2 separate regions of the Homo sapiens genome follow, and region 1 is linked to region 2. Evidence: promoter capture Hi-C in human tissues and cell types (Jung and others, 2019). All regions are on one chromosome and are shown on one strand. Each heading gives the region's core, a stretch centred on a gene start or on the middle of the fragment in contact. The rest is flanking DNA. Distances are from core to core; before and after follow the strand shown.

What was found. Contacts are between HindIII fragments. The study calls those that stand out against the background at their distance.
Region 1: a contact is called between a fragment that was not itself captured here and the fragment with the promoter of C1orf146 in region 2, in 2 of the 25 tissues and cell types used here (dorsolateral prefrontal cortex and stomach).

The regions. Positions count from the first base shown.
Region 1 is chr1:92,033,034-92,035,733 of GRCh38, forward strand. The region is part of intron 2 of EPHX4 (epoxide hydrolase 4); the gene reads left to right. Among named protein-coding and RNA genes, the nearest start is that of EPHX4, 4.4 kb to the left of the region's middle. The HindIII fragment of the contact is 5,392 bases long and covers 1-2,700 here.
Region 2 is chr1:92,216,588-92,219,287 of GRCh38, forward strand. C1orf146 (chromosome 1 open reading frame 146) reads left to right here and starts at 1,328. Exons shown (of 6, transcript NM_001012425.2): 1 at 1,328-1,461. The HindIII fragment of the contact is 16,370 bases long and covers 1-2,700 here.

The sequences.
Region 1 (2,700 bases), core at 188-2,687, 180 kb before region 2:
CAGCCTACCAAGTAGCTGGGACTACAGGCATCTACCACCACACCTAGCTTTTTTTTTTTTTTTTGGAGGTGGGATCTTGCTATATTGCCTAGGCTGGTCTTGAAAGCCTGAGATCAAGCAATCCTCCCACCTTGGCCTCCTAAAGTGCTGGGATTACAGATGTAAGCCACCACGCCAAGCCTCTTGTAATGACTTTTAACAGACCCTACTTTTTGATCATGTGCCCAGAGTTAATATTCCTAAATGTTCCTGAATCACAGGTCTTTTTCCTCCTAAAAAGACCTACCTGCTACCAATTTAAATTTATATATTTTTTTGAGGATTAAAAGAAGTATCTTTTAATGTTTCAAATTTCTGAAATAGTAACAAAACAGTTTGTATAGAGTATCTACTATAGACAAAATACAACACTGGGTAGGGAAAGGAGATTTTAAACAAACCAAAGACGTGGAGTGATTGTTATTAGGAAGATTTTGGTGAGGCTGGGGTGAGGAGAAGGCAGAGTAGAGCACTTATGGAAACTGAAAATGAACTATTTCCTATGCACAGAGCAATAGGCTTATATGAATGCAGGATAATTTAAGTACCTAAATATTTCTCATTAGGAAGAAAATCTGGAGCCCCAAATATGTAATTATTAGTTACTATCTTCGTTCATTTTTGTTGCTAACAAAATACCTGAGACTGGGTAATTTATAAAGAATAGAAATTTATTTCTCACCGTTCTGGAGACTGGGAAATCCAAGATCAAGGCACCAGTAGGTTCAGAGTCTGGTGACATCCATGTCTGTGTGTGTCCAACATGGTGCCTTGTTGATGTGTCTTCTGGAGGCAAATAAACTTCATCATATGAATTTTGGGAGAACATATTCAGACCATAGCAGTTACCTAAGGGGAAGTGTTCTGTTCTCTATTGACCCCACTGGGCCAAATAAGTACAGATGAAAGCAACACATGTTTAAACTTTTTTTTTTTTTTTTTTTTTAATGAACATCTTTAAAAGAGGTGGTACATATCAGGAGGCCGAGGCGGGTGGATCACGAGGTCGGGAGATTGAAACCATCCTGGCTAACACGGTGAAACCCTGTCTCTACTAAAAATACAAAAAAAAAAAAAATTAGCTGTGCTTGGTGGCAGGCGCCTGTACTCCCAGCTACTCGGGAGGCTGAGGCAGGAGAATGGTGTGAACCCAGGAGGCGGAGCTTGCAGTGAGCCGAGCTCGTGCCACTGCACTCCAGCCTGGGCAACAGAGCGAGATTCCGTCTCAAAAAAAAAAAAAAAAAAAAAGGGTGGTACATATCATGGCAGTAAAAGAAAACCAGTTTTTATAGCACAGGGCTATAAGAAATAGTTCATAAACTAAATAGGTCAAGAAATTGATGTTTTTAAAAGCCCAGTTCCCTTAGTTGACTCAAAGGTGGAATATCTGGTATATTTTGAAAGGTCTAGGACAATATCCTGTCCCCAAATTCTCCCTTACTATCTTATAATTCCTAGAATTCCAGCATTACAGATTTCTTACCTCCTTTAGAGTCTTAAAGATTTTATGTCACTCAAAATCCTGATTTAAAATGCATCTAGTGCTGAAAGGATTACTACCTTAAGACGCTTCTTTTTTTTTTTTTTTTTAAACAGTCTTGCTCTGTTGCCCAGGCTAGAGTGCAGTGGTGCAATCTCAGCTCATTGCAACCTCCATCTCCTGGGTTCAAGTGATTCTCCAGCCTCAGCCTCCCAAGTAGCTGGGATTACAAGTGCGCACCACACCCAGCTAATTTTTGAAGTTTTAGTAGAGACAAAGTTTTACCATGTTAAACAGGCCAGGCTGGTCTCAAACTCCTGACCTCAAGTGATCTGCCCCCTTCAGCCTCTCAAAATGTTGGGATTACAGGTGTGAGCCACTGCACCCGACCCACTTTAGTTAATACTTTGTGAGTGAAAGGGACTTTATGAATAAATGTATTGAGGATGTTAGTGTACTAGGAGGTATTAGGCATTGAAGAAAAGAGTGGAGGATGGCAAAGACACCTATACCTAATAATTTTTCCAGAGTGAGAAGTCTTCCTTAGAAGATTTTCCCTGCATGAAGATTTTTTTCCCCTTCTGGATTTATGTGCATAAATAAACATAAGTCATTTTCATGTTATGCTTTGATCTGTTCTTTCATTTGGAGACAGCTTAATGAGGTGGTAGATTAGCTGCCCAGTGCAATTCGAGCATATGCATATGGTCTCACCTTATGGAGTGCGTGGCATAATTAGTTCACAATAAAATGTTACTCTGAAACACTGATCAAATCTGCCTAACATAGCATGGGCAGTACATTCTGGCTCAACCACTAGTTTGCTGAAGAACCCTAAACAGTCATCTACAATGATGTTGCAAAGTTGGGTGAGGATGAAGAGAGTCAAAATGTCGAAAATCTTTCACGTGGCCCCAGTGAATATTCAGTAAATACTCATTTTCTTCCTTCATTCCCATTCATTCATTGTGGAGATCCATGTGTCAAATAATAATTTCCTAACTCTGGTGATGATAGTTAACATTTTCTAAGCATTTACTATGAGCCAGGCACTCTCTTTTTTATTTTTATTTTAAGTTCTGGAATACATGTGCAGGACATGCAGGTTTGTTACATGGTAAACGTGTGCCATGGTGGTTTTCTGCAACTATCAACCCGTCATGTAGGTATTAAGTCCAGCA
Region 2 (2,700 bases), core at 78-2,577:
GGCGTGAGCCACCGCGACTGGCCGGTGGAGCTATATTCTTGGGTAAGCAAGAAGAGATGGGCTCTGTTGTCCATTTGAGGGCTGGCCTTACATAGGATTATACAGTTCACCTACTATAGTTGGAAAGAAAGCAGAATCTGGCATATAGATGTTGGTAGATTGGTAGGTGGACATCTGTGGAACTTCGTTTCTGGATGCTTTTATTTATCTCATTTGAATAGTATTTAATATTAAATACTAAATACTATTAAAATCATAAATCTTTATGAAATATTAGCAGTAACTATTTCACTTCAGCCGAAAATGAAGATGAGGAATAAGTTCTGGAGATTTGAAGAGAGGAGGAATTGTCTTAGTCCATTATGGCCACGATAACAAAATACCTTAGACCAGGTAATTTATAAACAAGAGGCCAGGTGTGGTGGCTTAACAAACTGCCCAAATGAGGCAGCAAGAGTGCACCTAATTTTAATATCAGTTATACAAAATGCCAAACATACAAAATGGTTATCACAGGGAAAAATTAACAGCACATCACAAGTGTGCTCCAAAGGATTTTTCCTGGAGCACCTTTCTTTCTACAGGAATACCTGTTTTACAAAGTAAGGCACATAGTTTTGTATCCTAACCATTAGGCTCAAGGCAAGTAGTGGTCTTTGTCTTTTTACATTTTTATGATTGTGACACTTAATAAATTGCTGAGCTTCAATTAGGTCTGAACATAATGGGGTCCTAAAAAGCAAACACACAGGCCCCTGTATGTCCTTTTGACAGCTGCTCATGAAAATCTACCTTTTTCATAATTTGGATAAACTGAAGGCCACTTTGATTTTATGTTGCAAATGACAGAAATCTAAGAATTGAGCCTGAATTTTAGAAAACTGTGAAAATCAATTCCGGACAACTGAGTCTAACACGCAAAAATCTTGTTTTTTTTTTTTTTTTTTTTTTGAGACGGAGTCTTGCCCTGTCACCCAGGCTGGAGTGCAGTGGTGCGATCTCGCTCACTGCAACCTCCGCCTCCTGGGTTCAAGCGATTCTCCTGCCCCAGCCTCTCGAGTAGCTGGGATTACAGGTGCGCGCCTCCATGCCCAGCTAATTTTTGCATTTTTAGTAGAGACGGGGTTTCACCATGTTGGTACGCTGGTCTCAAACTTCTGACCTCGTGATCCGCCCACCTCGGCCTCCCAAAGTGCTGGGATTAGTGGCATGAGCCACCGCGCCAGGCCTACAAATCTTGTATCTTCTTAACCACTTCCGGCTTCCTGCAAACCTCGCTCTAGGGAGCCAGAAGCGCGGAAAAGGTTTGCGGGGTCTGCGGTTGCGCAGAAGCCCAGCGACTGCAGAACCCTGCCCCAGGCACCCTGGGCGCTCTGCCCTACCGGCGGCGCCTCTCACTGCTCACGGAACGTTCTGGAAGTTTGGGAAACCCTGAGCGGTCTCTGAGGACCTGGTGAGCAGGTGGGTTTGCAGCGCTGGGGATGAGGCCTCGGCAGACCTGTCTCTTCGCGTTTTTCTTTCTTCGTTCTTCGCCGGCGTAGTGCTCTCTGACTTGCCGAGCTCAGAGCTTTACCTCAGGGCTTTGGCGGGTGAGGGGAGGAGATCCTGCCCACCCTATTTTCCCCTTGAGAATCGGTGTGGAAAGGGCTCCCTCGGGGTTTTCCCTGTCAGAAGTCCGTCACCCACCTGCGAGTGTAAATTTTATTTGCTTTAGGCTTTGTTGGTCACTCCGAAAAGTAAAGAATGGAAGAGACCGTGAAGATCCTTGTAGGCCGGCGCCTCACTGGACCCGTGAGGAGACTGAGCAGGGAAAGTGACTTGCTGGAGATGATGGGGCAGTGTTAAACTTAAATTTGCAAACACTCCAGAGCTTGGAAAAAACAAAACAGTAGCAACAAAAGCCCAGAATACCAGGGCCTTGGAACTGGCAAAGGTTTAAGAGGCCACTGGGCCCACGCTTTTTGTTTTTATTTTTAATTTAACTTTTATGTTAGGTTCAGGAGTCCGTGTGCAGGTGTGTTACATAGGTTAAACTCGTGTCACGGGAGTTTGTTGTCCAGATTCTGTCGTCCCCCAGGTGCCCATTAGTGACTGTCCCTCCTCCACCTTCTGGTCCCCCGGTCCCGTCCCCCGCGCCTGCCCCTCCCCTCTGTCCCTGCACGCTCAGCGTTCACCTCCCGTTTAGAAGCTTTTTGTTTTCAGGTGAGGATGCAGCCTAACCAGAGGTGACGTGATTTGCCCAAAGCCACACAGTCCTTGCTTGGCTGCTGGTCGAGGAGCTTTTCCCCAGAAATGCTGAGAAGGCACTGCCCCAGCCCCAGGTTTCTGATTCATTCCTCACCTTTAACAGGGACTTGGGACACGACTGACCCCACTCCTTTCTCACTTATTGTGCACGTGATTACTTTACTTCTCTTAGCTTTAGTTAAATTGTTTTTAAAACCTATGTATAAGGGTGTAAAGATTTAAATGAACATTTATGGATTACTAACTGATAGGCACAAACATACATATCCACATACATACCAGTAACTACTCCAAAAAGTTCTTGTAACCTTTGCATATATGTATTCATAGCTATGTGGGTGTATTAGTAAGTATGTGTAGGGGGGGTTATAGAAGTTGAAGCCCTTCCCCCAGCCAACTCACCATTTACTCATTCACAAATCTTTGAGTGTCTACTGAGTGCCAGGTGCTGAG